Linked DNA regions of Homo sapiens: region 2 is linked to region 1. Evidence: promoter capture Hi-C in 16 types of primary human blood cells and fetal thymus (Javierre and others, 2016). All regions are on one chromosome and are shown on one strand. The core of a region is centred on a gene start or on the middle of the fragment in contact, and the rest is flanking DNA. Distances in the headings are between cores, read along the strand shown. Region 1 holds the start of TMOD2 (tropomodulin 2). Region 2 has its middle 13 kb from the start of SCG3.

Region 1 (5,871 bases), core at 1,824-4,323:
CTTTCAGCTTCAAGTAACAGAAAACTCCATCTCAAATTGACTCAACAATAAGGTTATTTATTATCTCATATAACAAGAAATCCAGAAGAAGGGCAGCACTGGGGCTGGTTGATGACTGACTCAACAACAATATGGCCGACCCAGATTCATCGTATCTCTTTACAATGGCCAGAACTGGGTCACATGTCCACTCCTAAACTCTTACAGGCCAGTTAAGAGGATTCTATTCCTCTTGTCTATGATAGATTTGAGAGTGTACCTCTCAGAGGCTAATAGGGTCACCTTTCCTAATGTGTAAACACCCATATAGGCTTCTATAAAGAAGAAGAGGGTGGACTGAATGTTTAATAGACAACCAACAGTGTCTACTACCTGTTCCTAATGAGGTGTGCTACATATTCCACTGTGAATAATTAAAATACTTCATTATAACTGCCACGTTGAACTTTTTTCCTTTCTGCCATTTGACAATTACAGTCAATATATCAGCTTCCTCATTTACAGGAAGAAATGGCTACACAAAATGATATGTAAGGTCCCTTCCAGCTCCAGGAGTTCTGTTTCAATTTTACATTTTCATCTTCTAAAAAGCAAGTAGAAAAGTTAAACTTACAAGATATGGTCCAGAAATGATCATGGGTTTCAACTGATAAGTCATAGGCATATTGACATCCTTTCTTCCTTAAGATAAGACATAGGCAATAGATTTAAAGAGCTAAACAGACTGGAACTGGTAATATCTTTCCATTAAGTTTTAACATTAGGTTAAATGTTCTACTTCCCTCACTCATCCTTTAACACCTTCCAGCTTCCAACACTCATCATACAGACAGAGACTGATCAGAAGTTTCTTTTCACAACTCACTTTATTTTGGTGTCAGCATCCTCCTGGAGCATGGCTCTGGGGCTGTAGGATAGCTCTTGTATCTCTGCTTCGACTGCCGAACATGACTTTAACTTAAATCATTCCCCTGTCTGCTTCCTTTCATGGCTAGTTTCTGAAGGAATACTCTATTCGTTTTATCACATGCAGCCATTTTCCTCGTGCAGAACCACGGGAAACCAAAGAGAAATACTGTACACTACTGAGCACCTTTGCTACTCTTTCTTCCAATATGAATGAAATTGCTTTATTATTTTCAGCATATGCCTACTATCAGCTTTCTCTGGGAAAACTGCTGGCTCGATCCGTAAGCAGCCCTGTTCTTATTTAACAGAAGGCTATGACTGTAACAAATGTACAACATAAAAAAGTCAAAGGCATCCTGTCGGTTACACAGGACATTCGGAATAACAAATGTACAGGAAAACTTGGGAACATGACTTAAAGTAATTTGGTCACACCCCCATTTCATTTAACTCTTTCTGGCTCAGATTTGTCATTCTGACAGGAGGCCCAAGATATAGTCCATTACCACAATTGATCATAGAAACAACACTGGTCTCTCAGTCAGCAGCCACTGCGTGCCAGTGTTCATCATGCTAGTTCCCAGAGTTTTAGAGGATTAACTTTACTTTCTGGTTCAACCCATCTGCTGGGGAAGGTATGGCCCTATTTTGCAATGTGCAAAAGGGAGACAGTGCTGGGGGTGCCCACAGTGGAAGGAGAGAAGACAGGCTTACTGAACACCCCTATGACCTTGAATAAGTCACATCACCTCTCTGTGCCTCTTATTAACTATCATTGGGGAAAAATACCTTCACTCTGCCTGTCTCACAAGGGTTCTTGTAAAAATCAAATGAGAACACAAATAGGAAAGTATTTTCATAAATGCAAACCAGTGTTATCATTTTCAGATGTGGAATTTCCTCTGCAGCACGTTTTTTTGGCCACACGATTACTGCACACCTCGTGCCAGACAGACTATAAAGCTGTTTCACCTCTTTTCACATTTTGCCTAAAATTTCATATAGAGATTACACCAGCCATGCTGCATCCATCCCTTTGGTTCATTTTCCTCCACTACATCTGTGAATGCAAATCCCACCATCATGTGAAACACTGCATAGCAGCAACTTGCAAAACTCAACGAACCTTAGACTGCCAAGATAAGTCCCATAAGCAAAGGTTATGCTCAAAATATGCTGCAAAAGTTCAAGAAGGAGAGAGATATCACATCTAATTAGAAAAGGCCTCTGGAAGTTAAATCTAGATGCCATGTATTTTCATAATGTTGGTCTTTGTCCTATGTCACCCCACTCTGCTGTCATGCTTCAGAAACTTGACTTTATTTTCTCTATCTTTGGAGCTCTCAAGAACCTGGCAGACAGAACATCTCAGGGTATATTCAGGGATGAAGTGAACGGGCTCAACGACTAACAAACCCAGTGGATTTTAACATTTACCCAGCCCAACGAGGTCCAACTATCTTTAGGTTAGCACGACATATAGGACTTTCCCGGCCCAAGAACTCCCTCGGAAACCCCAAGGAAGGAACTTTCACTGAGTATGCACTAAGTGCCAGATCCTAAGTGCTATGGGTCGCTTAATCCTCACAACACTTTTTCAAGCTTGAAGCCTGTTTTACAGATGAGGACGCGAAGGCTCAGACAGGCTAAGTTGTCCGGTCTCACCTCAGTGAAGCCGCCACTGCGCTTGGGCTCTCCAGCCCCTCACGCCATCACCCTAGAGCCTTGCTAACTTCCACCTCGCTTACCTCCTTCCCTCCCTAGGCTGCCAACCCAACTACTCTCTCCTCCCACGCCCACGCCCAGCCAGGAAAACCTGGGGCGGGCGGGGTCTGTACCTGAGACCGCTCTCAACGCGGCTTCCGTGTCAGGATGCTCGCTCACAGGAATGCTCATCACAGGCTTGAAAGCCTTTGCCATCCACGCTCTCCGGAGCCCCGAGCGTCTCCAAAGAGCCTGCCCAGGCTTCTCCCCGACCCAGGTGCTTCCTCCCCTGCAGAGCTGTGGCGGGGTTCAGACCCCGATTCCGGGAGAGGACACCTGTCGGGGAAGGGCGGGGCTGGGGGACTGCGGGGCCGCGGCGAGGCTCAGCCGGGAACTACGCTTCCCAGCCTGCTCCGCTGCAGCCGCGCGCCCCGGCGCCGCGCCCGGCCGGGAGCCGCCTGTTGATCGCCGCGCTCGCCCCGGCCACGGCGCCGCCCCTGTTCTCCCGGCCCCGCTCCACCGGGGCTGACGGACTGACGGCCAGCACAGCCGGCTCCGGGATGAGCGCACGGACGGGTGAGCGCCCCGGGGGGCGGGTGGGGCCTGTTCTGGACAGCCGGTGTCTGCAGCCCCCGGGCCCGCAGCGCGGTGGCCGCCGTGCCCTCCCTGCCCGCGGGAGGATGCTCCGCGACATGGGCGGTCGGCCGGGCGGGCGTGCAGAGCCGGGCCGCCTCTCGCCTCTCGCCTCCCGGCCCGGTCGGCTGCGCCGGGAGACCAGGCGCTGCGCCCGGGCGGGAGGCGCCCGCCGGGGTGTGAGTCCCGCGCCCCGCACTGCGGTGCCGCAGCCTCTGCAGCCCGCTGGGCCGCAGCGGGGAGGGCGCGGTCTCCTGTCCTCCCGGGCTGCGGGGCTGTGTTCTTCCACTCCGGGCTTTGTTCCCCCACTTTTCCCCTTCCTGTGCATGTTTGGTGAGCTCCTGGAGCGGTATGCATCTCCCTGCCTCGTTCAGCAGGCGATGGGGAGGGGTGGACTGGCCGGCGTCTTTCCTGAGATCGCTGGAGCTGTCACTCGCAGGGCGTTTCAGCCTCCCAGTAAGCGGCCTCGTGCGGATCCTCGAGAACCTTATTATTATTGTTATTACTTTTCTGGTTAAAGTAATTGTAGTATGTGCTCCCTTGAGGCTTCCTAAATGTTCCCTGTTGACCTGCGGAAATGAAGGTGGATTTTTAAAACAGTAATAAAAGGCTTCTAATGGGAATTTTTAGAGTATTCAGAGGTAGGAAGGTGATGCCGTCACAATGCAAATTAGCAGTGAAGGAGGCCGTGCTTACTGCAGCTTCGTCTGTGCCCATTACATATCTGAATCACGAGGCATTTAGGACGGGAATGAAAAGAAGATCGGGGGAGGTGTTTTAAAAACCAGGTTCTCCTCTTAGCTTGACCATTCAGGAGCTGAGGGACCTGGGCAAGTCCCTCCACCTCTCTGGGCCTCTGCATGTAAAGGGGCGTTTGGGCTAAATGATTTGTAAACCTCTGTTCTTCCAAGATTCTCCCCTCTCAGGGAACTGAAAAGATGAGAGTGTTTCTGTTTAACAGCACTACAAAAAGCCTAATTGTGACAACAAGCGCCTCTACCCTAGTGAGGAGGAAAGATTTTTCAGAGCTTCAGCAATCTGATTTTTTTTTAAAGATAAAACTGATTTTCTCGATCGACTCTCTTCAGTCTAACCCAATAAATACGCATTGCAATCATTTTAATTTTTGTAAGGTACTGTACATTGGTGGGCAACAAAATGATGGGGTTTGTTTTTGTCTTTAATTTGCTGAAGGTGAAGTGATGGGATCAGCAGATAAAGGATTAGTGGCTCCCTAGGGCTGGGCACGAGTGGTCAAATGTGGTCAGCATGGAGGTCGGGGAGGAAGCCCCAGCAAGAAGTAACCAGAATGTGTATACACAGAAAAGAGAAGTTGCGTACTGATGGATCATTGTTTGAAAAAGAAATATGCAATAGAAGGAATGAGAGAATCAGGAACTCGGCGCTCTGCAAACCTAACATAACAGTTGAATAAGGCAAGGACTTACCAACTGGTCCAAAACCTTTGAGTGAAAGGTGGTTGGGGAATAGGATTTTCATATTATTTCAAAGTATCTCACCACAGTTTACTCTGGGAAAATTTGTCCTTACAATGGAGAAATTAGGAGGTCACCACTGGAACCAAATGACCAAGTTTAGCAGCATCTACTGCGAGTCTCCCGTTGTGAAGCAATAAGGAGGCATAATTTCACCTCTGTAGTGTTCCTGCAAAAAGACTTGGCGATGGGGCAGAGCAAATGGGAGCAACTATTGTAGGTTAAAATACTCAAGTGATACAATAGTGAATTGGGATGTGTGAACTTTGAATCCTAGATGCAAAAAAAAAAGCTATAAAAGACAATTTGGAGATAGTTGGGGATGTTTGAATATGGATTGCATGTTAGATGATATTATGGAATTGGTGTTAATTTTCTTAGGTGCAATAATAGTTCATTCTTGTGGTTACCTAGACCAGACAATCCTTATTCTTTGGAGATGTGGATATTGGAGGTGAAGTGTCATGACATCTGCAACTTTCAGCTGTGTCAGAAAAAAAAAAAAAAGGATAGGGGTAGCAGAACAAGTTCAGGAACGTAGCAAATGTGGCAGAATGATGACGGTTGGTGAATCAAGAAGAAAACAAATGTTTATTGTACTATTCTTTTAACTTTTCTATAGATTTGAACTTTAAGAAATGGGGAAGTCAATAAAATAAATAAGCGAATAAAGAGAAAGTGTTGTAGAAGACGGGGGTGGTTCGTGACAAACAGCTGCAGTGAATCTGTGGGGAATTTCTTGGCTTCACCTTCCCAAAATTGAAATCACCTATTGGAGGTGTGAGTGGGGGGGACGGGGGGTTGGTGTTCCCATTTTTGGTTTATCTTGGCTACTCTCAATCATTTATGCTTAAGTACCCCATCCTCTAGCTTCAACTTCAAAGTATTAGTAATTCTCCATACCTAAGAAATTCTAGCCCTACCCAAGAACCATCCCGAAAGTGCTGTCCCTTTCCTCTCTGTGTCCGAGATCTGTGTCAGTGTGTAAGGAAGTTTGAGAACATAGGCAGTGGTTCATTTTATTTTGGGTTAGGGTAGTGTTGGGGGAAAAATGATTTAGCTTTGTGATAGGATAGAAGTTTTGGGGTTTCCTCTCATTCCCTTGTGTGTAAATCATATACAACCAAAT
Region 2 (6,385 bases), core at 1,210-3,709, 84 kb before region 1:
TGCATTTGTTACATCTCTTAAGTCTTGTGCAATCTGGAACAGTTTCAGTCCACACTTATCCTCCCATGACAGTGACTTGTTGAGGAGGCTAGAAAAGTAGTCTCTTCTATTAACAGTCTGGTAGAATTTTCCACCTTCTGGAGTTGTCTCATTGCTTCCTCACGGAGGCAGGATTTATTCCTCTAGCCCCTGGAATTTAGATCTAAAGGACTTATTAGATTCAAGTAAACTTTTTTTGGCAAGACTATTTTAGTGGTACTTTAAATTGCATTATAGCAGGATGCCCATATGTCTGGTTGTTCCACTATTTGTGATGTTAAGATTGATCCCTAGATTCAGGGAGTGACAGACTGATTTCTTTAAAAAATAACAGCCTTATTCAAATATAATTCATATACCATGCAATTCACCTATTTAAAGTGTATAGCTCGGTGATTTCTAGTCTATTCACGGTGCTGCGTAACCATCACTGTAAATATTTTCAGAACATCTTCAACACCCCAGAAAGAAACCCTATACTCATTAGCAGGCATCACCCCCACTTCCCAACTACCACCACCACCACCCCCAGCCTTGAGCAACCACTAATCTACTCTTTGTCACTATAAGATTTATCCATTCTGGACATTTTATATAAATAGAATTATACAATATGTGGTAACAGCCTGACTTTTGCATTGTAAAATTGCACCCTGCCATTCATTGCCTCATGACTAGCAGTAATCTGTCAGGGCAAATATTATTTAAATAGTGAAAACCTTCTTTTCTGATAGTGTTTATATTGGGCAGTGAGAGGAAAAATACATATTTTTTCCAATTTTAAAAATTGTGGTAAAGTAAATATAACATAAAATTTATCATCTTCACCAATTTTTAAGTGCACTGGTCAGTGGCATTAAATACATTCATAATGTTGTGCAACCATAACCACCAACCATCTCCATAACTCTTTTCATCTTGTAAAACTGAAACTCCATACCCATTAAACAATAACTCCCTATTTTCTCCTCCCATCATCCTCTGGCAAACACCATTCTACTTTCAAAATACACAGTTTTAAAATTAAAATATTATATCAAATATCGTTTTTTTTTCTTTTGAGATAGAGTTGTGCACTGTTGCCCAGGCTGGAGTGTAGTGGTGCGATCTCTGCTCACTGCAACCTCCGGCTCCTGGGTTTAAGTGATTCTCCTGCCTCAGCCTACCAAGTAGCTGGGATGACAGGGATCCGCCATCGCGCCCAGCTAATTTTTTGTATTTTTAGTAGAGTGGGGGTTTCACCATGTTAGCCAGGCTGGTCTTGAACTCCTGGCCTCAAGTGATCCGCCCACCTTGGGCTCCCAAAGTGCCGGGATTACAGGCGCAAGCCATTGCGCTCAGCCAAAATATCCTTAAGTAGCACTTAACTACCTTTGATCTGTAGAAACCTTTTTTCCCATTGACTTGTAATTTCTTACTATGGCATATTTTAAAGACACATATTCTTTAAAAATTTATGATAGTGCAAAAAGAAGGGAAAGGGTCTTTGAAAAAGATTACTTGGCTGCTTACCAAAATCAGGAAGGTAGTCTTCCATCGCACTTGTGTTTTTTCCCTCAGCTCATTTCAATAGGACTCTAGTATGCAATTACAAAATAATTTATAGAGGTACTCAATATGTACCTTGCAAATATTTAAATTAATGGTTCTGTCTCTAATTTAACTGCATACTAAGTTCTTCTGGGGAGCTTGTGAAGACTTCCAACGTCAGCGTCCAGGTTCTATTCCATACCAGAGAAATTAGCATCTTAGGCAGCATATAACAGCTGATAGTGATGCTTGTGTACTTAACCTCACAACACATCAAGAGGCACATAATGTTGAGTTGATGCCAGTGACTGATGCTGAATTTGGTCACCAAATTAAAATGATGCCTACTAAGTCACTCCGTTGCAAGGCGTATTTTCTGTTTGCAATTAGCAAGTAATCTGTGGGGTGATATTTTGAAATCTTGTGACTACTCTGTTCCCCAATCATTTTTCACCTAATGGTTTAAGCGGTCATTGATAATTCTTGTAATATGAGGTTGTAAAGTGATGATTTTCTAGTTCTAGAATTCTTTTCTGATTTGTTAGCTTGCATTCTTCTGTAAAGAAGAAGGATTACTCCCCAGCCCCTACCGTTTTTTTGTTTTTTGTTTTTTTTGAGTATCCATTATGGATTCATGGATTTTTATTTGTCCAAAGTATTACTCTCAGATATCCTCAGTCACTACAGTCATTATTTTAATGCTAAAATTGTCTTGACTTTGCTAATCGAGGATCACTTTAAACATGGCCTTGGGTCTTCATATATATATATATATATGTTAGTTTTTTTTAAATTCAGATATAATATACACACAATAGAGGACCTAATTACAGCTTGAGGAATTTTTAAATACGTATACAGCCATGTAATTACACTCAGATCAAGATATTTACTATTTCCAGTACCCTAGAAGGCTCCTTCATGTCCCTTCCCTACCAATACTTACCCCCAGACCCAGAATAATCACCATTCTGACTTCTACCACCATAGATAAATTAGCCCATTCTTGAACTTCATATAAACAAAAACACGTGTTCTTTTGTGTCTGGCTTCTTTCACTCGTCATTATGTGTGCGAGATGTATTCCTGTTGTTGCATGTGGCAGTAGCTCATTCTTTTCTACCGCTGATCACTTCAGAAATGAAACTGCTAAACCAAGGGGTACATATCTTTTCATCTCAGGCATCTGGCATATGTATTTTTAGGCTTTTGATTTATATAACCCACCTGCTTTCCAAAAGGCTTATGCCAATTGCTCTCTCACCAGAACGATATACTTAAGGACACGTTCTTCCATATCCTTGCCAAATCTAGCATTTATCTTTTCAAAAACCTTTCCTAAATTTGAAAGAAAACTAATAGTTTCTTCCTTTGAAACATTGTGCTTCTCTTATTACTCATTGGGTGTTATTTTTCATAAGTTTTTGACCACTCACATATTTATTATTTGCAATATTTCTTTCTGAGTGTTCTTTTCAAAGACTGAGCTAGTTGTGGAGACAAAATAGGAACACAACCCTTTGTTATAATTATATATGTATAGTATGTATTGTATTTATACATATGAATGTAAAGTTCAATTATATTATAACTTTTAGTAATTGAATGTTAACCAATGTTATGCAAGAAAGTAGATTCCATGGCTAAAGAAGTTTAGGAAATGTTAAAAACTATTTTTGTTTTGTTTTTTAAATTGTGGACCTCATAAACTTTATGATGCTAATGTGTAATGCGAATCTTCTAATATTCCTGTGTTCCTAAGAGGAAAATTTATATAAAGTTCTGAAGAACACAATTTGGGTTATTCTGCCTTAGAGCACATTCTTAAAGTAAGATTTATCAGGAAAACTAAATGAAATGTCCCTTTTTTTCCCTCACCTTGGCTGTGGTAAGCCGAATTATACATCTTCTTCCACCTCATCCCACCCCCAAAGATGTTCTTGTCTTAATATGTGGAACCTGTATGTTACCTTCTACGACAAAAGGGACTCTACAGATGTGATTAAGTCATGAGGATGATCACATCCTCATGATGAGAAGATTATCCTGGATTATCTGGGTAGGCCCAGCCTAATCACATGGGTCCTTAAAGGAGAGAACCTTTTCAGGCTGTTGTCAGAGGGAGATGTGACCACTGAAGAAAGGTCAGAGGGAGAAGCAAACTCGCTGGCCTTGAAGATGGAGGAAGGGGCCATGAGCAATGAATGCGGCAGCTGCTGGGAGCTGGGAAAAGCAAGGAAACGGAGTTTCTTTAGAGTCTCCCCTACTGTCTCCAGAAGGAAGGCAACCTTTCCGACGCCTTGATTTCAGCCCAGTGAAACAAGTATTGGAATTCTGACCTACAAAACCATAAGATAATAAATTTTTGTCATCTTAAGCCCCTAAATTTGGGGTAGTTTGTTTCAGAAGCAGTAAGAAACTAATATACTGGTCAACATTTAGTGTTGTCAATATTTTCAATTGTTGCTAATTTGAAAATTCAAAAATGATATTTTATATTCATTGTAAAATGAACATTTTATAACTTAATGAATTTTCTTCCTATTTTTGAATTTCTGTTTGTGTCCTTTTCCTATTTTTCTTTTAGAGTGTTTCCATTTTATCGTTGATTTATATGAGCTTTTTATATATTATGGAAATTAAGTTTTGCAGGTATTTTCCTGGTTTTTCAAACTTATAACACTTTTGTAATTTTTTAAAACATGAATTTTAGATATCTTATCATTCTTTTTCTTTATGTTTACTTTTCTTTCTTTCTTTCTTTCTTTTAAGGCAAGGTCTTACTCTATCTCCCAGACAGGAGTGCAGTGACATAATCACAGTTCACTGCAGTTTCAACTTCCGAGCTCAAGGGATCCTCCCTCTTTACCCTCTGTGGAGTAGCTAGGACTACAGGCATGCACTACCATGCCCTGTTAATATATTTATTTTTTGTAGAGACAGGGTCTGGCTTATTGTCCAGGCTATATTGTCCTGGCCTCGAGTGATCCTCCCACCTTGGCTTCTAAAGTTCTGGGATTACAGGTATGAGTCACAGCACCCAGCCCTTTATGTTTTCTATCTGTAATGTTTAGGATAGTGTTTTTCTTCTCAAGATTATGAAAGTAGGCTGAGCATAGTGGCTTATGCCTGTAATCCCAGCACTTTGGGAGACCAAGTCAGGAAGATCTCTTGAGCCCAGGGGTTTGAGACAAGCCTGGTTAATGTAGGGATGCCCTGTCTCTGCGAAAAATTAAAAAATTAGCTGGGCATGTTGGCTCACATCTGCAGTCCCAGCTACTCAAGAGGCTAAGATGGGAGGATTGCTTGAGCCTGAGACATCAAGGCTACAGTGAGCCATAATCATGTCACTGCACTCCAGCCTGGGTAACAGAGTGAGACCCTGTCTCAAAAAAGCACACAAACAAAAAGACTGTAAAAGTATTCACACATTTTTTTTCATGTTTTCACTTTACATGTTTGATCTGTATACAATTTATTTCAATGAAGGTGTGAGGAATACATTCATTTTTCTTTTTCTTTTTTGTTTTCTTTTAGACAGGGTCTCACTCTGCCGCCCAGGCTGGAATGCTGTGACACAATCATGGCTCACTGCAACCTTGATCTCCCTAGACTCAGGTGATCCTATCACCTCAGCCTCCCTAGTAGCGGAGATTACAGATTCATGCCACCACATCTGGCTAATGTTTTATTTTTTGTAGCGATGGGGTTTCACTGTGTTGTCCAGGCTGGTGTCAAAATCCTGGGCTCAAGCAATCCACCCACCTTGGCCTCCCAAACATTTTAATAAAAAATTGTTAGCTAATCATACAAACATCATTTAAATGTGCCCTCCAATGTTCATGTGTTGAAAACTTAATCACCAGTGCAACAGTGTTGTGAAGTGGGACCTTTAAGAAGTGATTATGTCATGAGGACAGAGCCTAACCCTGGAATTAATGGGATTAATGGACTAATGTCCTTATCGTGGGAATGGGTTTGTTGTAAAAGTGAGTTCAACTCTCTTGCACACTGTCTTGCATGTGATGCCTTCCACCATGTTATGACGCAACAAGAAGGCCCTCACCAGGTGTGACCCCTTGATCTTGGACTTCCCAGCTCCAGAACCATGAGGCAAATAAACTCCTATTGTTTATAACTTATCCAGTCTCAGGTATTCTGTTATAGCAGCACAAAACAGATTGATTTTAAATGCCACTTGTACAGTGTACTAAACCACCATATTGCAGGGAAACTAGTTAGAAAGCTATGACAGTGGTTCTATTTCTGGACTGTTTTTTTCTATCCCTGTGCTGGGGCCAAATTGTTTTAGTTACTTTAGCTTTATAATTTAATATCTGGCCAGCCAGCTCACCTTCATTTTCTTTTAAAACTTTCTTGCTTATTCATTTATGTGTTCATTCACTCAAAAAATGTTTATTGAGCACCTACTCCATGCCAGACTCTGTTCCACGTGTTGGAATATGAGATAGACAAGGTTCCTGGCCTCAAAGAGCTTGCATAGTCTAGAGGAGGAGATGGACCATGAAGCAAATTTATTAAATGTTGTCATAAATACCAAGAAAGAAAGAAATAGGGTGATGTAATAGAAGATAATTGAGTAAGGACAGGATGAGGAGCTAATTTTGTAAAGGCAAGCTATAAGCAGAAAGAAGAGCAGGTGCAAAAGTCCTGAGTTGGGACAAAGCTTGTCATATTTTGGGAGTGATATGAAGGGTGGCCTTGGGACCAGAGCAACATGATAGAAGAGAAAAAGTGGGTATCTTCCATGTTCTCCTTCTCCTAACTTCCACTGTCCACCTTGCCCTGTGCCCAA

What was found. The method cuts DNA at HindIII sites, captures the fragments that hold promoters and counts their contacts. A CHiCAGO score of 5 or more calls a contact.
Region 2: a contact is called between a fragment that was not itself captured here and the fragment with the promoter of TMOD2 in region 1, in 6 of 17 cell types (M1 macrophages, neutrophils, M2 macrophages and 3 more). The highest score is 7.1, in M1 macrophages.

The regions. Positions count from the first base shown.
Region 1 is chr15:51,748,524-51,754,394 of GRCh38, forward strand. TMOD2 (tropomodulin 2) reads left to right here and starts at 3,074. Exons shown (of 10, transcript NM_014548.4): 1 at 3,074-3,189. It also overlaps a transcript of LYSMD2 not described here. RefSeq lists an enhancer at 2,628-2,697 and silencers at 2,808-3,237, 3,288-3,397, 3,428-3,487. The HindIII fragment of the contact is 6,757 bases long and covers 2,510-5,871 here.
Region 2 is chr15:51,664,996-51,671,380 of GRCh38, forward strand. No RefSeq gene overlaps it. Among named protein-coding and RNA genes, the nearest start is that of SCG3, 13 kb to the right of the region's middle. The HindIII fragment of the contact is 7,589 bases long and covers 1-6,254 here.